Regions from separate parts of the Homo sapiens genome. Here all the other regions are linked to region 1. The links are contacts of gene promoters, found by promoter capture Hi-C in blood cells and fetal thymus (Javierre and others, 2016). All regions are on one chromosome and are shown on one strand. Each heading gives the region's core, a stretch centred on a gene start or on the middle of the fragment in contact. The rest is flanking DNA. Distances are from core to core; before and after follow the strand shown. Region 1 overlaps EPS8L1 (EPS8 signaling adaptor L1). Region 2 holds the start of LENG1 (leukocyte receptor cluster member 1). Region 3 holds the start of LENG9 (leukocyte receptor cluster member 9). Region 4 holds the start of EPN1 (epsin 1). Region 5 holds the start of ZNF580 (zinc finger protein 580). Region 6 holds the start of ZNF784 (zinc finger protein 784). Region 7 holds the start of FIZ1 (FLT3 interacting zinc finger 1).

The links. Contacts are between HindIII fragments. The CHiCAGO score rates a contact against its expected background, and 5 or more counts as called.
Region 2: a contact is called between the fragment with the promoter of LENG1 here and a fragment that was not itself captured in region 1, in 1 of 17 cell types (total CD4 T cells). The highest score is 6.3, in total CD4 T cells.
Region 3: a contact is called between the fragment with the promoter of LENG9 here and a fragment that was not itself captured in region 1, in 1 of 17 cell types (endothelial precursors). The highest score is 5.3, in endothelial precursors.
Region 4: the fragment with the promoter of EPN1 here is called in contact with a fragment that was not itself captured in region 1 in 1 of 17 cell types (total CD8 T cells); the score reaches 5.4 in total CD8 T cells.
Region 5: the fragment with the promoter of ZNF580 here is called in contact with a fragment that was not itself captured in region 1 in 3 of 17 cell types (activated CD4 T cells, fetal thymus and naive CD4 T cells); the score reaches 7.0 in activated CD4 T cells.
Region 6: a contact is called between the fragment with the promoter of ZNF784 here and a fragment that was not itself captured in region 1, in 1 of 17 cell types (erythroblasts). The highest score is 6.6, in erythroblasts.
Region 7: the fragment with the promoter of FIZ1 here is called in contact with a fragment that was not itself captured in region 1 in 9 of 17 cell types (fetal thymus, activated CD4 T cells, naive CD8 T cells and 6 more); the score reaches 10.8 in fetal thymus.

What each region holds. Positions count from the first base shown.
Region 1 is chr19:55,078,095-55,081,484 of GRCh38, reverse strand. EPS8L1 (EPS8 signaling adaptor L1) reads right to left here. Exons shown (of 20, transcript NM_133180.3): 3 at 3,357-3,390; 4 at 2,428-2,486; 5 at 1,634-1,795; 6 at 1,207-1,356; 7 at 631-713; 8 at 1-254. Among named protein-coding and RNA genes, the nearest start is that of EPS8L1, 3.9 kb to the right of the region's middle. RefSeq lists an enhancer at 231-1,188. The HindIII fragment of the contact is 9,126 bases long and covers 1-3,390 here.
Region 2 is chr19:54,157,857-54,161,246 of GRCh38, reverse strand. It overlaps LENG1 (leukocyte receptor cluster member 1), which reads left to right and starts at 1,526. Exons shown (of 4, transcript NM_024316.3): 1 at 1,526-1,683; 2 at 2,786-2,965. The coding sequence starts at 1,552. It overlaps TMC4 (transmembrane channel like 4), which reads left to right. Exons shown (of 15, transcript NM_144686.4): 12 at 1-117; 13 at 214-369; 14 at 702-780; 15 at 873-1,139. The coding sequence ends at 941. RefSeq lists an enhancer at 1,524-2,193. The HindIII fragment of the contact is 1,716 bases long and covers 232-1,947 here.
Region 3 is chr19:54,461,945-54,465,334 of GRCh38, reverse strand. LENG9 (leukocyte receptor cluster member 9) reads left to right here and starts at 1,557. Exons shown (of 1, transcript NM_001301782.2): 1 at 1,557-3,390. The coding sequence starts at 1,809. The coding sequence ends at 3,245. It overlaps CDC42EP5 (CDC42 effector protein 5), which reads left to right. Exons shown (of 3, transcript NM_145057.4): 3 at 1-309. The coding sequence ends at 234. LENG8 (leukocyte receptor cluster member 8) reads right to left here. Exons shown (of 16, transcript NM_052925.4): 16 at 3,319-3,390. The HindIII fragment of the contact is 35,995 bases long and covers 1-3,357 here.
Region 4 is chr19:55,673,432-55,676,821 of GRCh38, reverse strand. EPN1 (epsin 1) reads right to left here and starts at 1,596. Exons shown (of 11, transcript NM_001130072.2): 1 at 1,387-1,596. U2AF2 (U2 small nuclear RNA auxiliary factor 2) reads right to left here. Exons shown (of 12, transcript NM_007279.3): 12 at 2,106-2,888. The coding sequence ends at 2,754. RefSeq lists silencers at 1,315-1,644, 1,815-2,034. The HindIII fragment of the contact is 36,539 bases long and covers 1-3,390 here.
Region 5 is chr19:55,639,253-55,642,642 of GRCh38, reverse strand. It overlaps ZNF580 (zinc finger protein 580), which reads right to left and starts at 1,641. Exons shown (of 2, transcript NM_207115.2): 1 at 1,460-1,641; 2 at 1-146. The coding sequence starts at 134. It overlaps LOC107983998 (a long non-coding RNA gene), which reads right to left. Exons shown (of 2, transcript NR_171683.1): 2 at 1,844-2,517. It also overlaps a transcript of ZNF581 not described here. RefSeq lists silencers at 1-80, 1-81, 1,272-1,791. The HindIII fragment of the contact is 9,119 bases long and covers 1-3,390 here.
Region 6 is chr19:55,622,835-55,626,224 of GRCh38, reverse strand. It overlaps ZNF784 (zinc finger protein 784), which reads left to right and starts at 1,659. Exons shown (of 2, transcript NM_203374.2): 1 at 1,659-1,741. The coding sequence starts at 1,664. RefSeq lists enhancers at 1,279-1,428, 1,179-1,678 and silencers at 1,499-1,558, 1,629-1,678. The HindIII fragment of the contact is 2,172 bases long and covers 1,336-3,390 here.
Region 7 is chr19:55,597,699-55,601,088 of GRCh38, reverse strand. FIZ1 (FLT3 interacting zinc finger 1) reads left to right here and starts at 1,572. Exons shown (of 3, transcript NM_032836.3): 1 at 1,572-1,615; 2 at 3,188-3,390. The coding sequence starts at 3,224. ZNF524 (zinc finger protein 524) reads right to left here and starts at 801. Exons shown (of 2, transcript NM_153219.4): 1 at 681-801. RefSeq lists silencers at 296-845, 1,556-1,975 and enhancers at 453-1,326, 1,327-2,201. The HindIII fragment of the contact is 10,107 bases long and covers 1-3,390 here.

The sequences.
Region 1 (3,390 bases), core at 485-2,984:
GCTCCGCCTGCAGAACCGCCAGGTCAGGACCCCGGGGACCCAGGTCCGGGGAGGCCGAGTCAGCGTTGCTCGAGGTCCCCACCGGCTCAGGCCTCTGCGCCTCCTCTGCCTCGGGAATGGGCTTCGCCTGGGGTCGTCCGCGGCCCGCGCCCCGCTCTACGGTGCTGATCACTGCGCGGACTGACGGGCGGCGCTGCAGGGGCGGGGTCTCAGCGGCGGGCGAGCGGTCGCGCTGCAACTCCTCCTGCGTGGCCCTGCGGAGGGCGACGGGGACACCAAGACTGGGTCCACTGAGGGGTCCAGGGAGGGGGAAATCCAGGGCGCAGAACGAGACACACAGGCTCAAAAGGCTCAAAGGGAGTGAACAAGTTCAACGAGGTAGGGAGAAATCCGATATACGGAGGGATAGCACCTCTCTAGAGTGAAACTGAGGGCCTGGACAGGGAACAGAGAAAAGAAGCAGAGTTCTGGAGAAGGGGTCAGCTCGTCTGGGAGGTACAGACAAGACTCGACTAGGGTGTGCTTGACTCCATGCAAAACTCTTGTTCTGTTCCAGGCTGGTGTTGTAGACTGAGGCACAAGGAGGGGAAACCGGCTTCCCAGAGACCCTGCCAACTTCTTCCCTCTCACCTGAGCGCCGCCGCCCTGCGCTCCCCGCGGCCCGAGCGGTAATTGTGCAGAGCCCCCTGGATGTCCTCTCGGATCAGCTCCGCCTGCCAATCACACCGTCAGGCCACGCCTCCCCACGCCGCACCCACTTCCTACCCGGGCCTCGCCCCTGGCCGATTTTTCAGCTCAGTCCCAGCCCACGTGCGGCTACCGTTCACACCTGTGAACCCACGCACGTCCACGCCCCGAACTCACCCCTCGCCCTACACCTGTCCCTGCCCTAAGCCACGACCCCGCCCATGGAGACCCAGTCCGGGTGGTTCCTCGCCCCCACCTCGTCCTGGCTGCTCCCCCAGATCCTTCTTGGCCATGTTCTGTTCATGTCCTCATCCCACCTTCATGTTCTATCTTGACCCTGGGTCCAATCTCAAACCCCACTGCCTTCCAGAACTTCCTTCCCAGGTCCCCTGCCCTTCCTTGCTCTGATCCCGCCTTAGCCCCAGGCCCCGCCCCACCTAGAGGCCCCACCCATTTCCGCCCCGGCTCCAGGCTCCGCCCAGTTCCAGCTCCACCCCCAGAGCCAGCCCATCTGCTCACCCCGAGGCGCAGGCCCTGGAAGAAGTGCACGTCGGGCTGCGCGCGCTCGGGTTCCTGGCACACGAGCAGCAGCAACGAGCGGCTCCTGCCGGGTGGCATCACCGCGTCACAGCGCACGATGGCGCCCAGTGGGTACGACTCCAGCTCCTCCTGCCGGGTGGGATGGCGGGGTAAACTGAGGCCCCGAAATGATGGTACTACTAAATGGCGACGGGAGTGTGGGCCAGCAGGTCAGGGCAACCTCAGGCGGTTAGGGGGTTAGGGATAACAGCCCTGTTTAATAGATGAGGCTATTAAGGCTCAAGAAGGGGGCTGGGGTCCCTCGCCAGAGTTCCCAGAGGAAGGACGTGCAGGAGCCAAGATTCACACCCAGACCCCCTGAAGTCCCTGCCCCAGACACTCCTCCCACCCACGTGCCCCCCGGCACCTTGGAGGCCGGGTCGAGCAGCGTGACATGGTCGGGAGACACTCGCAGCAGCATCTCCTGTGCCCAGACTCGGCCCTGGCTATCCATGACGGCCAACTTCCTGGAGGCATCCTCCACGGTATGCACGCCATCGTCCTCACCCAGGCAGAACGTCACCAGGTGCTGGTACGGACCATGGAGAAAGCAGTGAGGCCCAAGATGATGCCAGGTGGGCTCAGAATCCCCCAGAATAATCAGACTTTCAGCCTGAGACTAACCACACCTCCTCCAGGAAGCCTTCCTTGATCACCTGTTCCACAAATCAGCTCCTCCTCCCAGTGCCCTTTGTTTCCCTTTCATCAGAGTGACTAGCACCTGAGTCTGGCTTCTCACAGACTGGAGGCTCCTTGCGGGCAGGGAAGGAGTCTGGATTATAGCTCTCTCCTTCTAAATGCCTCCTCGGGTCTCCTGCCATGCCCCCTGCCACCTCCATTAGAGCACCAGGCGCCTCTGTGGATTCCTCTGGACCTTGTCTACCCCTTCCTCATGCAGGGCTGTGTCTTGATTTGCCTCCGTGGTCCCACTGTCCAGCACAACAGCTGGCCTGGAGGAAAGGCTGGCAGATTAAGTGGACCCGAGGCCCCTGGCTTCATATCCATGACTGAGGTGAGGCAACGGAGGTCCATTTTATGGATGGGCAAACTGACTTTCCACATGCTTCCTGCTTGGGGGCCTAGCTGCTTTCAAAAGCCCTATCTCCTGAGGCCACCTTTGCCCCAGAAGATGTCCTGGGGGAACACAGACCCCAGACTCACATTGACTGGGTACTGGGATACATCAGCCATAACAACTGTGGAGTAACGCTTCCTCTGCTCTGCCAGGGGAGAAAGAGAATGAGCCTGGGAGTCCAGGCCCAGCCCCTCCTCCATCAGACCCAGGAGTCCAGGCCCCCAGCCCCTCCTCCCTCAAACCTAGGAGTCCAGCCCCCCAGCCCCTCTTCCCTCTGACCCAGGAGTCCAGGCCCCCAGCCCCTCCTCCCTCAAACCCAGGAGTCCAGGCCCCCAGCCCCTCTTCCCTCTGACCCAGGAGTCCAGCCCCCCAGCCCCTCCTCCCTCTGACCCAGGAGTCCAGACCCCCAGCCCCTCTTCCCTCTGACCCAGGAGTCCAGGCCCCCAGCCCCTCTTCCCTCTGACCCAGGAGTCCAGGCCCCCAGCCCCTCTTCCCTCTGACCCAGGAGTCCAGCCCCCCAGCCCCTCTTCCCTCTGACTCAGGAGTCCAGACCCCCAGCCCCTCTTCCCTCTGACCCAGGAGTCCAGCCCCCCAGCCCCTCTTCCCTCTGACCCAGGAGTCCAGCCCCCCAGCCCCTCTTCCCTCTGACCCAGGAGTCCAGCCCCCCAGCCCCTCTTCCCTCTGACCCAGGAGTCCAGCCCCCCAGCCCCTCTTCCCTCTGACCCAGGAGTCCAGCCCCCCAGCCCCTCTTCCCTCTGACCCAGGAGTCCAGGCCCCCAGCACCTCTTCCCTCTGACTCAGGAGTCCAGGCCCCCAGCCCCTCCTCCCTCAAACCTAGGAGTCCAGCCCCCCAGCCCCTCTTCCCTCTGACCCAGGAGTCCAGACCCCCAGCACCTCTTCCCTCTGACTCAGGAGTCCAGACCCCCAGCCCCTCCTCCTCCAAGACCCTGGATGCCAGGTCCTGTTTCTTTAGACCCAGTTCTATGGGCCTGGGGCTCCCTTGCCCCCCGCTCACCATAGATAGACTTGGCGCTTGGCTTTGGGGCAGC
Region 2 (3,390 bases), core at 277-2,776, 920 kb after region 1:
CACCTGCTCCCCGGCTGCCCGCACCTTCCGGGCCTCCGCGGCGAATTTCTTTTTCCCCTTGGTCCTTCTCCTGGGTCTGGCCATCTCCAGCGTTCCCCTGCTTTACAGCATCTTCCTGTAAGTGCGAGAGGCTCCCGCCTCTCTCCCTCCCTCTCTCCCCATTCAGTGTTCAGACTCCTGGCACTATGTGAGCCCAGCCTGTCTTGACTTCAGGATCCCGCCTTCTAAGCTGTGTGGTCCATTCCGGGGGCAGTCGTCCATCTGGGCCCAGATCCCTGAGTCTATTTCCAGCCTCCCTGAGACCACCCAGAATTTCCTCTTCTTCCTGGGGACCCAGGCTTTTGCTGTGCCCCTTCTGCTGATCTCCAGGTGAGACGGCCCAGACTTCTGGGTCTGGGTTTGAATGCGTGTGATCTGGGGGCCACCACCTGCGTCCAAGAGAGGAGAGGCTTGGGCGTGGGAGCAGGCAACGTACTGAGTCTGAGGGAGGAGGCCTAGGCTCCTGGACTGCTGGGTCCGAAGGAGGAGGTGGGCGGGACGTAGGACTCCTGGATCTGAAGGCGGAGGGGCTGGGAGACTGAACTCCTTGAGCCCAGACGAGGAGGGGCTTAGGCGTCCACATCCCTGGCTTCGAAGGAGCCAGACGTTTGGATATAATGGAAGAGCGTGTCAGGAGTGGCTTCCGTTCCTGTCTCCTTCAGCATCCTGATGGCGTACACTGTGGCTCTGGCTAACTCCTACGGACGCCTCATCTCTGAGCTCAAACGTCAGAGAGAGACGGTGAGCCAGGCGGGTCCCTGAGAGGGCCCCTGGGGAACATGGAAAGGGGTTGGGGAAGAGGATTGTCTCACCTCCACCTCTCTTTGCCCCAGGAGGCGCAGAATAAAGTCTTCCTGGCACGGCGCGCTGTGGCGCTGACCTCCACCAAACCGGCTCTTTGACCCCCGCAGCCCACGTCCCGCTTTCAGACCCCAGGCCCATTGTAAGCCTAGGTCACAACATCTGTAAACTAGGAGAACTGGAGAAGACTCCACGCCCTTCCAGCTTTGGTATCTGGAGATTTCCAGGGCCCCTCGCCGCCACGTCCCTGACTCTCGGGTGATCTTCCTTGTATCAATAAATACAGCCGAGGTTGCTGAGCGCGCTTTGAAATCTGCGTCCTGAAGGTGGGGGCAGGGCTACAGCGGGGCAGGAGCCAATCAAATGTACGGGCATGTTTGTCGGTGCAGAGCGCTCTTCCGCAAGGAGACTTGTCGGTCATGTCGGCCAATCGACGGCCGCATCTGGTAGCATCAGGGGCGGGCCAACTTATGATTGGTTCAGATCTGTGACAAGAGGCGGTTGCTAGGGGATACCACGAGCCGAACGCCTAGCATTCGCTGTGATAAAGGGCGTCTCAGCCAATCACCTGTCGCTACAGGCCAGGGGGCCGTACCAACTAATTCGGAACCAATCCGCGGTCGAAGTAGGGACAAGAAAAAGGGGGGCATCCTCTCGCCAATCGGAAGTGCAAAGAGGCGGGCGTGCCAGTCCCTGGACAGCTACGACGCCATGAATATCTTGCCCAAGAAGAGCTGGCACGTCCGGAACAAGGACAATGTCGCCCGCGTGCGGCGTGACGAGGCCCAGGCCCGGGAGGAGGAGAAGGAGCGTGAGCGGAGGGTGCTGCTGGCTCAGCAAGAGGTAAGCTCGGAAGCCGGCAGGGCGGCGCTCCGGGGCCCAGCGCGCAGGCGCCGCGGTTGGGGGCCGGAAGCGGAGGCGTTGCGCAGGCTCAATGTGCCCCGTGTGAAATTCGGGACCAGGCGCCGATCCCACTTTCGAGGACGTTGCCCCGCAAACCTTGTGCCCACTTCCACGAAACCTTCCTTGATCTCGCCCTCGTCTTAGTTTTTCCCCCACTGATGTATTTCACATGGCTGGAACAGTGTCTAGCACAAAAGAGAAGCTTAACATTTAATGAATCCGTGAACCCTTGGACAGTTCAAGGAAATTCGGATCACTTTTTAGTTTGCCTGCACAGCCTATTTATTGAGCATCTACTGTATGCTAACTACATGCCGTGCACCTGACTTGCGGAATCCCCAATAAGCACTGTTCGTTCTTAGAGGGGCACTGTCATCTCTGTTGCACGAAGTGAGATGGCTTCAGTGAGGGGAAGGCACATTTTAAGGAGAGGCGGACAGCCAGGCTCCACGCCATCGGGCGAGCCCTTTCGTGCACCGCCCCCTAGACACATACACACAAACACGGGCTTTCCGTATGGCTCTTTAAATCTGTTTGGTGTACACCCAACTTTCATTTCCTTAGCTAGTCTGATCCTCCGCCGTGGGTGGGAGGTAGTCTAGGTTTTTAGAATCTCAGTAGGCTGCTGAGCGCTGTTTGAAATCCGCGTCCTGAAGGCAGGGGACAGGGCTTCAGCAGACTTGGGGTAGTCACTTGGAGCCATGGCTAGAATTCAGATCGTCTGGCCTAATGCATACCTTTATGGCTGTTTTAATTGTCTCACTTGAGGTTAGGAACCCCTTTGGTTTAGGCCAGGGACCTCCTCCCATACATCCTTGATGACCCGTGGTTTACTATTTGAAAGGGAGTTTACAAAACCCAGGCGTTGCCTCATCTGCCTACCCTCACCCCCAGCTAGGACAGGTGCCTCTTTTAGGCGCCTAGTGCTCCCTTTCTCATAACCCCAGCACCCTGGACTGCCATTTTCTGTGGTGGGCACCAGACTCACAGTTCTTGAATTACCTCTAGGTTCTGAATGTCCTGCCTATAACTTTCTCCCCAGGCCCGTACAGAATTCCTACGGAAGAAAGCCAGACATCAGAACTCACTGCCTGAGCTTGAAGCAGCAGAGGCGGGAGCCCCAGGTTCTGGCCCTGTGGACCTGTTTCGGGAGCTGCTGGAGGAAGGGAAAGGAGTGATCAGAGGCAATAAAGAGTACAAGGAAGAAAAGCGACAGGAGAAAGTAAGCTGGCCTCACCCACTTCATCAGAGGGGCCATGAATCGAGTTGGAGGGAGGGGGCACTTTAGCCATTGGTTGTGACCAAGGTCAAACAAGAGTGAACACACAGAATTTAGGACCATACCAAGGCATGACACTCAAAAAGCGTTGGCTATTGCCGTCTGGGCGCCCACAGGGGTTGGAGGTAGATGCTAGAGGTCCCCAGCTGCTGGGCAAACCGCTCAGTTCTCCAAACTGGAGGAGTCTCAAACCTGATGGGCTTTTAAAAATTTAAATCAGCCGGCTGTGGCTCACGCCTGTAATCCCACCACCTTGGGAGGCTGAGGCGGGTGGATCACCTGAGGTCAGGAGTTCAAGACCAGCCTGGTCAACATGGTATCTCTAAAAATACAAAAAAAATTAGCCGGGCATGGTGGTGCGCGCCTGT
Region 3 (3,390 bases), core at 308-2,807, 620 kb after region 1:
CCGCCGCCCGCCGTCCCGCAGTCCGCAGCGCCCTCGCCTGCCGACCCGCTGCTGTCCTTCCACCTGGATCTGGGGCCCTCCATGCTGGACGCGGTGCTGGGCGTCATGGACGCGGCGCGCCCGGAGGCGGCTGCCGCCAAGCCCGACGCGGAACCCCGCCCCGGGACGCAGCCCCCCCAGGCCCGCTGCCGCCCCAACGCGGACCTCGAGCTGAACGACGTCATCGGCCTCTAGGTTCCCTCATTCCCCGCGCCCTTCCCGCCCGGCACCCCACTTCTGTATACATAAACGGCCAAGGTGTGTGCCCGGGCTCTGACTTTTCACTTTGCACGTGGAAAGGGATGAATGATAGGGTCCTGGCGCCTCTGAGAGCCGGATGTGTCACCCGGAGGCCTGGTCCGGGTCCGATGATTGCCCTGGGGTGGGGGTGCGGCTCCTTTAAGAGAGCCCGAGGGCGTGGCCAGGCGGTGCCCCTTGCAGAGGCGGCGGCTCCCGCAGTCCCATTCGTCAAATACTGTGCGCCACCGCCGGCCGGACGTGGTCCTGGGGCCGGGCCAGACTCAGCCACCGCGGGGCCAGCCGAGGCGGGGCTGCAGAGTGCTGCAGCCCCAGGAGTCTTTCTGGCCCTGAACGCCTCAGGTGGACTCCGACCCGGCGGAGCCGCCGTTTACTCTGGGAGCGGCTGCAGAGGGAAGTGTCTGAGAACACTTTTAGAGCAGTAGGGGCCTGGTCTCCGTGGGGGAAGGGTCCGCAGGCATCTTGGTTCTTTAAGGCCCCCGAGGGATGGGGCCGAACATGCAAATGATTTGGACTGAGGGGCCAGGTTCTCGTAAGTTTCCCAGAGGGGCGGGGCCGCAAATGTAAATCACTTGGACTGAGGGCGGGTCCAGGTTCTTTAAAGACGTCCCCTCATGGGCGGGGCACACAGGTATCACCGGGAAAGGGGCGGGGCACCACATGTAAATCACCGGGAAAGGGATGGGACACAGGTAAATCACCCGGAAAGGGGCGGGGCACCACATGTAAATCACCTTAAAACGGACAGGGCACACATGTAAATCACTTGGGGAGAGGCACACACGTAAATCACCCGGAAAGAGGCAGCACAAAAGTATCACTGGGAAAGGGCCAGGGCACGCATGTAAATCACCCGGAACGGGGCGGGACACATGTAAATCACTTGAGAAGGGGAGAGGCACTCGTAAATCACCCGGAAAGGGGCGGGGCATTACATGTAAATTACCCTGAAAGGAGCGGGGAACATATGTAAATCACTTGGGAAGGGGAGAGGCACACATAAAAAAAAAAAAAAATCACCTAAAAGGGGTGGGGCACTCGTAAATCACCAGGAAAGGGGCGGGGCACCACATGTAAATCACCGGGAACGGGGCGGGGCACTACATGTAAATCACCTAAAGGTCGAGGCACACGTAATCATCCCGAAAGGGGCGGGGCATTACATGTAAATCACCCAGAAAGAGGCAGCACACATCAATCACCGGGAAAGGGGCGGGGCCAGGCTCCCAAGAGCTCCGGGAGACCGAGACTGCCGCAGCCTTTACGCAGCTTGCTTTCCTGGCGCTGGGGGAGGGCGCAGCCGGGAAGTCCCAGAGCAGCGGTGTCAGGCTCTCCACCAAGGAGGGACTGGGCCAGAGTCCTCGCGAGGGCACGCGGCGTGGTCCCCAGAGCTAGGCCGGAGCGCGGGCCGCTGACGCCACTGTCGGGTGAGGCTCGGTGCATCCAAGGGGAGCCGCCCTCCGTGCGGGGCGACCTCGTCTGCGCGGCGGGCGTGCCAGTTCCCCGCACCCATGGCAGCGGCCAGAGAGCCGGAGTTGCCGCAGGAAGCCCCCGCCACGGAACCCGCGCCCCCGCCGGCCTGCCGCTTCTTCCTGGAAGGCCGCTGCCGCTTCGGCGCCCGCTGCCGCCAGCCCCACCCTGGGGCGCCGGCGCCGCCTGGCCGCGAGGCGCAGCCGGAGGCCGGGGCCAAGAAGCCGCCGCTGCGCACAGCCGCGGACGTCATCCAGCGCATCCGCTGGGACCCGCGCCTCGACCCCGCCGACTTCTCGGTGGGCTACGTCGACCGCTTTCTGGGTGTGCGCGAGGAGCCCTTCAGCGCCTTTTGCTGGGACCAGCCGCTGGCGGCGCTCGGGCCGGGCGTGCTGGCAGTGCCCCAGCACCGCGTGCGCTTCTTCCGCTTCCGTGGCCGCCTTGTGTGGGACCGCGCCTCGCGCACCGACCTCGTCTTTGGCTCTGGCTCGGCGGCGGGACGCGGGCCCACCATCCTGGACGCACCGAACACCGAGGGCGCCCACGGGGCAGAGGGTGCCGAGTGGACACTGGCGGGGACAGGTCAGGAGGCCCAGGCTGCCCCCAAGCGAGGGAGCACAAGGCCGCTCTGCACAGGGCACCAGGAACCAGGCGTGGAGGAACCCGGAGAGCTGGAGGCGGCCCAGGAGAGGGCGCTGGGCACAGCTGCTGATTTGGGAACACTGGCCCCAAGAGGACGCCTCGCCGGAGTGACTGAGGCACTGAAGCCAACAGCAGCCACCAGGACCACATTGCTGGGGGGCAAGGAAGCACAGGCCCTGGGAGTCCCGGGGGGCTCCGCTGAGACGACAGAAGCCGAGTGGGGTCCTGCGGCCTGGCCCGAGGACAAAAGGGCCCGCCTTAGTGTTGCAGCCCCTTGCCAACCGCGCCCCACACATTTTGTGGCCCTCATGGTGACCGAGCCTGGGCTACAAGCAGAAGTGACCAAGGCCCAGGAATACCTGGTCCACGTGGCCCCACACTGCGCCAACTTCCTAGTGCCCTCTCAGAACCTACACCTGACCCTGGCCCTGCTGCGACTGGCAGGCGCTGGGGAGGAGGCCGCTGCCATTGGAGCTCTGAGACGGGCCCTCTTGGCCCCGGGGCTAAATGCACCCCCTCGGCTGAGCTTTAGAAAGCTGGTCCTCCTGGGCCCGCATGTGCTGTGTGCCCCACCCTCTCCCACACTGGAAAGCATGGCACAAGTGCTGAGCCAGAGGCTGGAAGCCGAGGGGCTGAGTACACTACAGTCTCCAGGGCAGCTGCACCCCCACCTCACCGTGGCCAAGGTGCCCCATGGTTCCCAGGTCCACCTCCCCAAGCTGGAGTTCACCCTCAGCCAGGAAGTGGGGTGCCAGCCCCTGCAGACACTCTGGCTGTGCCGTATAGGGAGGACAGGGGGGCCTTTCCAGCCCCTGGCTGAGATCCCCCTGGAGTGACACCCCCAGACCTCTGGAGGAGACAATGGATGCAAACAGCCCACACAGGAAAGACAAAGCAGGAGCGTGCACGCTCTCTCTTTCTCTCTTTAATTTTGGTTTCTCTCAAGCTTCCAAATGGTGCTCAGTGCTCCAAGGAAAGGAA
Region 4 (3,390 bases), core at 347-2,846, 600 kb before region 1:
AAGACAGGGAGGCAGGAGGCCAAGGAAGAAAGAGGCCCAGAAACAAAAAGAGACCTGGCGCTGAGAAATAAGAGATAAGAAAAATGGAATCTAATGGCAAAGAATATAAAATGTGGGTTCAAATCCTGGCCACATCAGCTACCTGCAGCGCACACCTCCTTGAGACACAGTTTGCTCAACTCTGAAATGAAAGAATTCCTACCTGGTAGGCCTGTTGATTAAATAAGATGGGTACATGCAGTGCTTGGCTCTGTGCCCCACAGATAGTAGGCGCTCAATAACACTGGCTGCTATTATTATCAGAGAAAAAACAGAGAACATTTCCAAAAGGGTGGCGGCAGAAAAGGCACTATCTTAATACTCTGTACTTATTTGGCGTGCATTAGAAAAAATTACCCAACTAGCACATCAAAGCTGAGATTTCTCAGATACTGCTTAGAATGAGACTGTATTTCAAATTAAATTGATTCAAAGAGAATTCTTACATTAAAAAGAATACAAAGGATATGGCAAAGTTCTCCAAGGAGTACTCCAATAACCGACCGATATCTAACACTTACTGTGTAAAAATCTCTAAGCACTGTAATAATAAAAACCAGAGCTCCCAGTAATTACACACTTGCTATGTGTCAGATACCGTCAGGCACTTTACAAGCATCACCTCAACTTACATGCACAAGGACCCTATGATGTAGGAACTACGAATGCCTACGAACTATGGATTTCCTACGACTAGGAAACTGAGGTTTTGACACAGAGACTATCACCTGGCAATTACACAGCTTAGCAGGCAGCCGGGCTTCTGAATCCAAGGCTGGGGCTCTTCACCATCACACCAGAGACTCAGAAAACTGGGGAAAAGGGGCAGATTCTAGATCAAGTTAACAGACTCCTGGAAAGAAACTTCAGGATTGGAGGTGATAGGTATGGGGGCAAAACTCAGATGCGAAGACGGGGCGGGGGTAAGATTTGCACCATAGGCAGAAAAGCCCGCAGGGAAGGGCTAGAGACACCTAGGGAAAAGAAGACTCGGAAACTCAACGAGACACGAACAAATCCTGACAGACACAGACACGACAGACAGAGGAGAGAGAGACCCGGGACAGACACACAAACACACTCCTATCTCCAAACCCTTTTCTAAGTTCACTGAAACAGGCACAGGCAGAGGCCCACAGGAAACAGACGCTGACAGACACACAGACACGAGAGAGACAGACACAGACAACCGACACGGGGGCAGTCAAGGCCGACACAGGAGCAGAGACACAAAGGCCGCCAGAGACACCCAGAACTGGCCAGACGCGAGCCCGCGCGCGCCGCGGCCCAGGCCCGAACACCCGGAGCAGGCGGGCCAGCGTCCCCCGCGCTCCGCCCCGCGCTCACCTCGGCCCCCTCACGCCGGGCTCTGGGGGGTCATGGCGGTCAGCCCCCTGCCCCGCTCGGCCTCGGTGTCGCGGGACGTGCGCCGGGCCACGGGCGCACGCACGAACGCAAGGAGGGCCGCACGCCGACGGCTCCGCCGCCCCGCCGCCCAGAAGGGGCGCGGAGAGCCGGGCGGGGGAGGGGAGCCGCCGAGGAGACGGGAAGCAACAGAAGGAGGCGACGGACCGGAAGCGGAAATTGCCGCGCTCCCCGCCCTCCCGTGCCGCACCCCGCCCTGGCAGGAGTCGCTTCCGCAGCCAAGCCAACCTGGAAGGCATCACTTCCGGCGCGCTGGGCCCCGTTGCTAGGCGCCTCTACGTCACTTCCGCCCGCTGCAGCGGGGGATCCGCGCGGTGCTCACGGAACGCCGAGAGTCAGCTCCAGCTCGCTTGGCGGCAACCGCGGAGCTCCTGGCACACCCACGCCACGCCCGCCCCGGCCCGCTCGGCCACCATCCCTCCTGTCGGCGGGGTGGGAGAGCACTCGGGAACCTCACGTCCCCCGGGGCTGTGCCTGTGCCGACCCCGAGAAGGGCACCGCGCAAGCAGGGAAGGCCTCGAGGCTGCCGGCGCCGGCAGCAGGGGCGTCCCAGCCAGGGGCCCGCAGTTTGCCAAGGGAACCCCCACCCGAGCCCAGAACCGAGGAAGAGGGTCGGACATACTGGACACACAGCCGCTCCATAAAGTAAAATACAACAAAATGTTTAATGAGCAAATTCGTCTTAGCAAATATGAAACTGCCACAGAGAGTAGGAGAGGGGCAGGGGCCACGGGGCTGGGCGCAGGTCGGGGGAGACTAAAGAGGAAAAATCAACTACGTAAGAAACCCAGGAGGGGACCAGAGAGGACCAGAGGCCGAAGGAACAGAGCTGTGGTCCTGGTAAGGGAGAGGGCAGGGCACTGAGGGCCGGACAACAAAATTCAAAATAGTTTGGCCATAAAATATAAACACGCTATGTTCCTACCGTGGGGAAGGGGAGAAGAAAGGGGTCTATGGGAGAAGGAGAGGCTGTTTTGGGAGGGGCTGGGGTCCTACCCCGCCCTGCTGTGCACCCTGTCCCCATCCCAACCCCTTCCCTCTGTGTCTGTGTGGGTGCGTGTTGTCTGTGTGGGCTGTGTGCGCACTTCCCCAGTCCCCTCCCTGCCCTAACCCCCCAACCCCCCAACCCCCGCCCCCCACCCTTAATTGCTGCCATTCCAGTTGCTGCCGGCTGTCGTGTGTCTGCGGCTGTCACTCCTCTGCCCATCGTCTTCAGAGGGGGATAAGGGGGGGGCGGGAGTGGGGAGAAGCCCCCAGCCAGCCCTGCCCCCACCCTCCCCCAGCCGCCTCTACCAGAAGTCCCGGCGGTGATAAGAGTCGGGGTCACAGTATTTTGTGACAACCACTCTGTTGGCGAACTTGCGGCCCGTCAGGCCCTGCATGGCTTTCTGGCAGTCAAACACAGAGGTGAACTCCACAAAGATCTGTGGGGAAAGGAGAGGCAGGTTTGTGAACAAGGCTCACGCCCAACAGCCAGTCAGCGTCCACCCAACCCCAGCACTGAAGGCAGGAAGGGACAGGGAGGAGGGGGCTTCGCCACAGGTGTCAGAAAGGGACCCTTAGTAAGCAGGTTTGGTGGAGTTCACCCAAATATTCTCCAGGATCAAAAAACAAGAGCATAAACACACCATAGGCATGGAGAGGGAGAAAGAATAGAGACATGCCAGAAACTCAGCAGAGCCATAGAGCGCAGGCGGGAGGCCTAGACGAGCTCACCGCGGGGGAGGGGTCCCTCGTGCTGAGTGTCTACTCCACACGAGCCACCATGGTGGGCGCTCCCAGAACCACCCCAACAGCCATGTTCTCCCAACAATAAGTGAACTAAGGGAAGCTCAGAAATTAGGATTCAAACCCAGGTTGAATAAAATTTAAAAACTTGAACCTTGATCTATTCGAGCTTCTAACCTTGCTTAAACCAATTTACAG
Region 5 (3,390 bases), core at 392-2,891, 560 kb before region 1:
GGCCCCGCCGCCGAGGAAGGAGTGGAGGAGGGGCCTTCCGCCTTGGGGAAAGGGGGAGCCTTGGGGGGCGGTGGGTCCATGGCCTCCGGAGAGGAGGACCGAGGGTGGGGTGGCCGCGGCGGCAGCAGCAGCATCTGGAGCGGCAGCTGGGAGCGGCGGAGGGGAGATTAGTTAAAATTGCCACTTCCTTTTAGGAAAAGTTTCCTAAAATGGAAAGCATCCCCACTATCACTGCTTGTTACCCTTTGTGCGCCACTGACTACCTCCCTAGCAAAATAAAAACTGTGACTCCAGCCCGGCTCTCCCACGTTCCATCAAGCTGCCTCGGAGAGGGCCTCCAACTGAGCTCTGCAAAACCCCGCCACCACCTGCCACTCCTCCTGGGTCCACCTCTCACCACTCAGGTCAGGTCTGAGGACGTAGTCCCCCGACTTTTCTTCCCTTTTCTCCTCTCAACCCACCCCAGCAGACAATCAATCCCTAAATCTGTTTACCTCTTTACATCTTAGACCCCGGGCCTCCTGACCGCCGAGATTTCTCTAATCTGTGGTTTCTTCTTTTTTCCTGTTGCCCAGCCCCAGTTCAGTTTACTTCCCCTCCCTTTGCCGCCCCCTACCCCCCCACCGGCCCCCGTATCGGCCTCCTGGCCCTCCGTCCCCACTACATGCCGCAGGGCCTCCCCATCTTCATATTCCGTGGCCTCCCTCACTTCCTCTCTAGGTACCTCCCCAGAGCCCCACTAACCCAATTCCCCACATTTCACTAGGGCTTTTCCATCCTGTTCCTACACTTAGCACCTCGAAGTCTAGTCACCTCTCCCCACTACGGAACCCATCGTCTTACTACATCTATACACCCCAAAATGGCTCAAATGCCTTCCTTCTGTATACCCCGCCCCCCCAACCTGGCTACCTGCTACATTCTCCCCAAAGGCCCCCTTTTCTCTCGCCCCCCATATATGGCGGTGACATCGTTACTTCTTTCTGTACCCATCAGGGGCCTTCTCCCAAACCCCGTTATGCACACCAGGCTCCGGGACTCCGCTTCCCACAGCACCTCTCCCAAGCCCACTTTCCCCTCCTTTCTGTGTACGTCTGGCATCTCTCTTTCTCCTCGTGTTCACCTCTTCCAGGAGCCCCATCCCTCTCCCTGTTACACACAGCGTGGTCCCCCGCCCGTTCTTTTGCTCTGCTCCCCTTGTTTATGGGAACCCCAGCGCCCGGGCGTTTTCGCCCCCATCCCGCTACACACCGCCTGTCCCCTGGCCCTGGGGCCCCTCCTATTGCCTTCACTTCCCCAAGGAGCCCTGGCGCCTCGACTTCCCCTCCCGTCCCTCCGCCCGATCCTGCCGCTCCCGACCCCCACCCCCATCCCGGGTGGCTCCAGCGCACTCCCCCAGCCTGCCTGGCCCCGGCGTCGTCCCAGGGCCAGGCTCCTCCCTCCATCCCGGCCCCCGTACCCCGTGCGGCGGCCTCTCGGGTCCGGAGGAACGGGCCGAGGTCCCGGGCGGCCCCGGGCTTCCCCTGGCGAGCGCCGGCGGCGGAACCGAGACTTCCGGGCAGCTCCGGGCCGGCGGCGCCGGGGACGCGGGGACTGGGGGCGCGGGGGTGCGAGGGGTTGGCGGAGTCCCTGGGAAAAGGCGCCGGCCGGAAGCGCGCGAGCCCAGTGCGGAGGTTCCGCCGCCTGGAGCCGGCGCTCCCACCCCTCGCCTCTGCGGAGCGCCCTGCGGGGAGGGGACCGGAGGCGTGGGGTCCACTGAAGACGCCCGCCCCCGGCGGCCCCGCTCCCCTCCCACCTCCCGAACGGAACGATTCCGCCGCTTGACAAGAGATCGGCCAATAAACCGAGACTAAGCAAAGTTACGTCTTCGCCCTAAGGCCCACAAGGGTTTGTCCTCTTTCCACTGGGCCGTCGCTGCCTGCTCGGCCGTGGCCACCCACCGAGGTAGAGGGCGGGAGAAGGGATGTTCCTGCCGGCTGAGCAAATGTGGAGACCGAGGTCCAGAGACCAGCCATTGGCTCCGATGTGGCCGGGCCGTGATTCTCCACCCAGCAAATGGGGAGGCCGAGGCCCGGAGAAGGCCAGACGCTGCCAGATAGTTGGGGAAGGTATGTTCTTTCCACGGGGCACATGCGGGAACCGAGGCCCACAGAGGGCCAGACGGCTGCATGCGCAGGTGGGGAGGTGTGATATTTCCAGAAGGCATGTGGCGACACCGAAGCGCAGCGAAGGCCAGGCTTTGCCAGATGCGGAGGTGGGAAAGGCTGGCACTGCCCACGGGGCCCACTGGAAGCCTGATGCGGGCTCGCGGGCTGCGCCAGGTCCTGGGGCACTTGAGGCCCGGGCGCTGGCTGCGCATGCGAAGGACTCCGGCGTCGAAAGCAACGCGCGGTGGCGCTGCAGCCGCACTGGAGAGCTGCACACGCGGCAGCACTCGGGGCAGCTGCAGCTCCTCCTCCAGCCACGTGGCGCCACGGCCTCGCAGGAGGGCGGCAGCAGCAGCATCTGCAGGTGCAGCTGAGAGTGGGGGACAGAAGAGGAGTAACTGTCACAGCGAGCCCCAAGACCCTGGGGTGCCACAGCTACATCCTAGAGCACTGTCCATCAGAACTTTCTGCAATGGTGGAAAGTTCTATGACAGTCACTAGCCACGTGGGACTCTTACACTCTTGAAATGTGGCTGGTGTATCAGAGGACCTGAATTTTAAATTGTATTACATTTCCCATAATCAGCACGGTGGCTCACACCTGTAACCCCAGCACTTTCGGAGGCCAAGGCGGGCGGATCACCTGAGGTCAGGAGTTCGAGACCAGCCTGGCCAACATGGTGAAACTCCTTCTCTACTAAAAGTACAAAAATTAGCCGGCCGTAGTGGTGCTCCCCTACAGTCCCAGCTACTTGGGAGGCTGAGGCAGGAGAATCGCTTGAACCCAGGAGGTGGAGGTTGCAGTGTGCCAAGATCGTGCCACTATACTGCAGCCTGGGCAACAGAGGGAGACTGTCTCAAAAAATACTAATTTCCCATAATCAAAATTTAAGCCACATATGGCTCCTACCTTATGGAACAATTCCAGAGACCACTGTCAACCAGTTGTAAACTGGAGGCCCAAGGGCCCAAAAGGCCTCACAGTTATATTTGGTTTGGGACACAAGGTACTTTTTAAACATTTTACTGGGCAGTATGTATATTTTTTGAGACAGAGTCTCACTCTGTCGCCCACGCTGGAGTGCAGTGGCATGCTTCTGGCTCACTGCAGCCTCACCCTCCCAGGCACAAGTGATCCTTCCACTTCAGTCTCCCAAACAGCTGGGACTACAGGCGTGGGCCACCACACATTTTGAGCCGGACCACTCTTTGTTGTGGGGGCCCATCCTGTGCACTGTAGAGT
Region 6 (3,390 bases), core at 410-2,909, 540 kb before region 1:
CCATACATTGTCCAAAATACTTTATATATAATGACTTCTTTAATCATCATAGCAACTGTGTAAAGTAGGTTTTATTATCACCCTCATTTTGCAAATTAGGAAACCTGGACAGAAAGAGCTGACTTAAGCATTAGACACAGTAGTAGATACAGTGCCTAGGGCCCATGATACTCTTAGGGACCCACAACATTTAAAAATTTATTTTAGGCCGGGCGCAGTGGCTCACACCTGTAATCCCAGCACTTTGGGAGGCCGAGGTGGGCGGATCACCTGAGGTCAGGAGTTCGAGACCAGCCTGGCCAACATGGTGAGACCCTGTATATACTAAAAATACAAAAATTAGCCGGGCATGGTGGCGGGCACCTGTAATCCCAGCTACTCAAGAGGCTGAGGCAGGAGAATCGCTTGAGCCCGGGAGGCAGAGGTTGCAGTGAGCCATGATCATGCCACTGCACTCCAGCCTGGGCGACAGAGTGAGACTCCATCTCAAAAAAAAAAAAATTATTTTAAAATCAAAAGAAAAGAAGGGAAATATAGCTTTGGAAGACCAAGGCAGAAGGATCGCTTAAGGCTAGGAGTTCAAGACCAGCCTGGGCAAGGCAAGACAGCAAGATCCCCATCTCTATAAAAGAAGAAGAAAGGAGGAGGAGGAGATAATTCAGCCTAAGTGGTGTTTATCTTTATTTTATACCAACATATCACAAAATATAATTTCATATATATTTATGAATGAAATGATCATGCTTAGGATCATGTTTAAGTATCTCCTATCCTGCCCTTTCAAGAAAACTATTTAAAGATGTTTCCAAACTCTTCCATGTCTCTTCTCAGTGGTTTGTCACAATGCTTCTACAGTGCTACACAAAAGAAAGAGAAATGGTCCAGAGAAGTGTAGTGACTTATCCAAGGTGATACCACCAGAATGACTAAACGGGGCAGCTAAGAAGAGCCCCGTCCTTGATGCTGCTGAAAACCCCGCGTTTTTGAGCTCTTTCCTCCCAAACATAACATCAGCTTGCGGGTTTTTGCGTCCTCCCAGGACCACCTGTGTTGCTGTTTACTGAATATTTTTCTCCACACTGCCTTTTTTTTTTTTTTTTTTGACAGAGTCTCTGTCACTCAGGCTGCATGCAGTGGCGAGATCATGGCTCACTGCAGCCTCGACCTCCCGGCCTCAAGCGATCCTCCCACCTCAGCCTCCCGAGTAGCTGAGAATACAGGCATGAGCCACCGCACCCGGCCTACACCGACGTTTATAAACTTGGCGTCATTACGTTGTCATGAGCAGTGCAGAGGTAATCACAAAAACGTTTACCGTGGAAACAAAGCAAAGCTTCTTCAGTTCTGCTGAGGTTCCCCTGACAGCCAGAGCCTCGAGTCGGCCTGCGTTGGTTTAGAAGGAACGTTCGGATTTGTTCCCAGGGTGTTACAGGCATCCTAGCGCCACACAGAGCGTACCCTCGGAGGGACAGACAGGTAATTAGAGAGGGAACAACTCACATTCTCCCGGGCTCAGCCGCCACGCCCCGCCCCGCCACGCCCCCTGCTGCACCACGCCCCCTCGCAGCCCCGCACTGCGCCTGCGCAGTAGCTCTTACGCCAGTTCGAGCCCCACCCCCTTTCAGAGCGAACATTGGCCTTGGGGGCGGGGCTTGGGCACAAGATGGCCGCTGCGCGCCCAGAGGCCCAGAGTCGGAGCTCACCGACTCCGGAGTCGCGATCCCAGGAGCCACTGGACCTGGTGCGGGCAAGGAAGGGGCCTGGGCGTGGGGCTCGAGGTGGGAGGAGGTCGTAGTGTGGGGGGCGGGTCCGGGGCGTGGCCTATGAGGGGGTGGGCGAGGGAGGTATTTAGTGCTATGGCCCTGGGGGTGGGGCTTCTTGTGGTTTCGCGAGGGGCGGGGCAGGGGAGGAGACTATGTCATGGTGGGCGGGGTGGGGGAGGGACCTATGGGTGGTGGGCGGGGCCTGGATGGGGGCGGAGTCTGAGGACGGTGTTGTCTTGTGGGACGGGTTTGGGTCCAGGGAAGGGGGCTTACCAGGGATAATTTGCATAATTTGGGTGGAGCCTTGTAAGGGGCGGGGCCTCATAAATTCTAGGGCTAATTCTAGGGTAGAAGGTTGGGAAGGTGACCCTGAAAAACGTGGGGGATTATGATTGGAGCACCTATGTCGGGGTAGGGGATAATTCTTCAAGGGTCTTAGTGATGCTTCTCGAATGCCCAAGGGAGAATTTGGGGGTAGAAGTGGGTGGTCTAGGTGACTTTGGAACTTCCTCCACGTTACCCCACTCAGAATTAGACTAATTGAGGACATTCATTCATTCAACAAACATTTACTGAGCTCCTACTTCGGCTCTGTAAATAGAGAAGTGACCAAGACAGACAAGGGTTGTGTTCTTTTGGAGCCTGCAGTCTCTTGAGAGGAGAGAGACAATAAAGGAGAGTTACTGTGATATGTTCTATAAAGGAAATAAAAATTGAGCCAATTTCTATAAATTGAGCCAAGAGTAGGGGTGGGGCAGCTAAATTTAGACGAGAGAAGTCAGCTGGGTGCCGGCTTATGTTTAAGCTGGGGTCAGAGAGATAAGTGGAGCTACATCGCCACAGATATTATAGTGACGATTTGGGATAAGTCATTTGGAGCCACTGGAGGGTTTTGAGTGCGAAAAATGACTTGATCTGATTTACATTTTCAAAAGACCTTCAGGCTATTCCTGGGAGGTGGGTTACAAGCCAGCAGAAATAGGAACAGAGATGCCCTTGGGTTTTTCAATTTTGGAGGCGCCAAGTGATGGGGCTTTAACTAGGGTGGAGGACAAAAGGTGGGATCCATGATATATTTTGGACAGGAGAGGAAATGTTGATGAGGATACAACAGAATCCTGGAGGATGGGCCGGGCGCGGCGGCTCACGCCTGCAATCCCAGCACTTTAGGAGGCAGAGCCAGAAGGATCTCTTGAGCCCAGTAGTTGGAGACCAGCCTGGGCAACATAGTGGGACTCCCTCTACATTAAAAATAATAATAATAATTTTTGTTTGTTTTGCTGTCTAAGATGGAGTCTTGTTCTGTCGCCTGAGCTGGAGGGCAGTGGCATGATCACATCTCACTGCAACCTCCACCTCCTGGGTTCAAGCGATTCTCGTGTCTTAGTCTCCCGAGTAGCTGGGATTACAGGCAGCAGCCACAACACCTGGCTAATTTTTGCATTTTTAGTAGAAACGGTATTTGCCATGTTGGCCAGGCTGGTTTCGAACTCCTGACCTCAGGTGATCTGCCTACCTCAGCCTCCCAATGTGCTGGTATTACAGGCCTGAGCCACCGTGCCCAGCCAGAAATAATTTTTTTTTAACTAGCTGGATGTGGTGGTGCATGCCTGTAATCCCAGCTACT
Region 7 (3,390 bases), core at 323-2,822, 520 kb before region 1:
ATTGACTTTGCCAGTTTCCTCCTCTGAAAAGTGAATAAACCAGGGTTGTCAGGAGAATCGAATAAGACAGTGGGCTTTAAAATGCCCCTCGAACACTGCCTGGTGCACAGTAAGCACTCAATAAACTTCACCAACGCCACCACCATCTTCCCGGCGCCCACTCAGATACTGGGAGCATGGGATTGGGGTGTAACGGAGGGGAAGGGGAGGCACAGGTGCAGCTGGAAGCAGGTGCTGCAGGTGCCCCCCTGCACCCCCCCCTCCCCTTTAACAGCCACATAGACTGCTGTCCAGAGAGGAGCAACCACCTTTCCATACGGTTCGCTCCCACGGGGTAGCCTAGTCTAGGAGTCTGGTCTTTGGAACGGTGGAAAGGGGGAGACTGGTCCCCCGACCCTCCCCGTCCCCTCGCCCCGGTACTGACGCGCCCATCGGCCCCCGAGCTGCGAAGCCCAAGCGCGGGGCGGGCCCTGCGGGGGCGACGGCCAATGAGCGGCGCCGGGTAAGCGGGCGGCGGGGGCTGCCAGGAAGGGGGTCTGCGCGCGCGCGCCCGGACGGCTTCGCGGGGCGCGAGCGCGGGAGCAGGAACAGGTGTTGGAGGCGCGCTCCGGGAGCGCGCGGCCCGGCCTCCCCTACCCCCACACCCCCCCTCCCGCCTGCGCCCCCCGCCTCTCGGGTACCTCATTTGCATGTCGCCGGGGCTCGCGAGTGTGCGCGCGCGCGGGGGCAACGGGGCCGGCGCGTGGGAAGGGGAGGGGGTGAGGGGGCCCTGCCCCTCGGCGGCGGCGAGGCGGGGGCGGCGGCGCGCGGTGCCGGCCCCGCCCCTCGGAGAAGCGCCGGGCCCCTCCCTTCCTGCCCTTCCCGCCCGCCTGCGCGCCCGCGGGAAACAAAGGGGACTCGCTGGGTCCTAACGACCGGTCGCGGCCACGCCCGGAAGCCGCGCCTGCGCACCGGCGGCCCTGGTGTGTCCCCAGTGGGAAATAACCCAGCACCACATCCCCAACCACCTCGAAACGCCTTTCCTCTCACAAAGCCCACAGTCGGGTGACCCAAAGACAGATACCGAATGATGAGGAGCGGGAAAATGGCTGCCCAGTGCCCGTAATTAACATGGCACCGGACAGGCTTCGAAGCCCATGGAGTGCTAAGTGGATAAGATGGTGCCGGTCTTTTCCAGCTCTGTATTGCAGTTGGCGCACTTCGCTTTCTTTTTTTTTCCCTAGTCCAACTGTACATCCTAATCGGAGGAGTCCGAGGCTGTGAAAAAGAAATAGTATCTGCTCTCATTTACGTTAGCATCGCCTAGTGTCGCCACGGAGAAGCCCCCTCGCTCTCAGCTCCTTGCCCTTAGTCTGTATGGCGCCGTGGGTGTCCCTAAGCCCCGCCCCTTCCCGCTGCCCTCACCCAAGATGGCGCGGGCCTGGCTTCTTCAACCTCCAGGGCTGGGAAAGGAAAGGGAAAGAGGGAGAAGGGCGGGGATGAGGAAGGGGAGCCAAGAGGGCGGGAGAAAGGGGGAGTACGGCGGGGGAAGGGAGCTGAGGCGGAAGTCGAGGGGCCCCCCGGGTGGAAGTGACGCTGCCCCCGCTGCCCAAAATGTCGGCGCCCAGAGGGAGGTGTAAGTAATTAAAGAGGAAAGCCGACGGACTTCCCCGGCCTCCCGGGGCCGCCCCGGGTCTCCAGGACCAACGCTCCGTACGAGCGAGGTGGACTCGCCTGGCCCCGGGGCCTGCCCGACCTGCCCCCCAACCGGGCGCCCAGGGCTGCACCTTTTAGGGGCAGGGGGAGGGGCACAAAAGGCCGGCTCTCGGGGCCTGGGGCCTGGAGCAGACTGGGCAAGTGGGGGGGCCCGCTCCTCAGGCTGCGGGGTGGAGGAGGAGGCGGGGCCTAGTGGCTGCTGGGGCGGAGCAAGGGCTGGGAGGAGCCTGAGTTGGGCGGAGCTTAGAGTGGAAGTGGGAGGGGCGTGGAGGAGGGAGAGTCTGGATAGAAAATGGGAGGGTCTTAGGCAAAGAGGTGGGGTTTGATAAAGGGGCGTGGCTCAGAAGGAATGGTGGGTAGGCCCTGGATTGAGGGGTGGAAGGAAACTCATTGAGGCTGGTTGGGTAAAGGGAGCCCAGGAAGCAGGAGGGAGGAGTTTAGAGTAGAAGGGATGGAGTTTGTCTGGGGTGTGGCTTAGAGAAGTAGGTAGGCCTAGTGAGGGGGGTGGAGTTTAAGGGTGTAATTTGGAGGGGTTTAATGCAACTATCAGGTCTTTATAATGAATGTGGAAAGGACTTGCAGGGGATGGGAATAGACTTCGTAGAGAAGGCCTGAGAAGGTGACGGGAGTCCAGTGGAGAGTCTTAGAAAGGATGTGGCTTCTTTAAAGGAAAAATTGGGTGGAGTTTTGGAAGTGGGTCTTAGTGGACCCGAGAGGGGCTTAGATAAGTCAAATAACTTAGCAATCATGGTAGGACTTAAGGAGGAATCCAGGAGGAACTTACGGGATAATAGTCATCCAAACAGCTTACTTGTTGCGTCTTTGCTGTGCACCAGCTTAAGTGGGCACGTAGCATTTATTGCCACAATTTTACTTAATTCTCGCCACCACTCCATGAGGTAGGTACTACTATTCCCATTTTACAGATGAAGAATTTTTATTATCTGATGTTACAGGAGTAATTCTGGTCTCCCTGCAAGGATGACTCCAGTGTGCTTAGCCCCAAATCTTTGCCCTCCCATTCGCTAAGTGGTCATCCTGGAAGAGGAGTGGGAGGAGCTTAGAGGGGAGTGGGAGGGCCTTTTGGAAGGAAAAGGGCTTGGCAAAGAATACAAGATCCTTAGGGAACATTGTGGGGGACTTTGAAGGGAGTAGGTGGGACTTAAGGAAGAGTGGGAGAGGCTTAAATTACAGTGGGAGGGGCACAGAGAGCAGTGGCCGCGCATTGGCGAAGAGCGAGGAGAGGCTTAAAAACACTCCGTGGAGTGAGGAGACTATGAAGTGATTAGGAAGATTTTGCCACAGGCGTGGAGCCGCGAGAGAAGGGTTTCTAAGAGAGTAGGAGGATTTTAAAGAACAATGAGAGTGGCTTAGAGAGGTGGGCAGTGGGAGGGTCTCCCAGGGGACAGGTGGTGGGTCTGGGAACCTGGGAGGAGAGAGCTGATGGGGAGCCGACCCCCTCACCTGCTCCTCTGTCTCCCCACTACTCCAGAGAGAGCCCCCACATACCACTGTATTCCCCGCCACCATGGATGACGTCCCCGCCCCAACCCCTGCACCAGCACCGCCCGCCGCTGCCGCCCCCAGGGTCCCGTTTCACTGCAGTGAATGTGGCAAGAGCTTCCGCTACCGCTCAGACCTGCGGCGCCACTTTGCCCGGCACACAGCGCTCAAGCCCCACGCATGTCCGCGCTG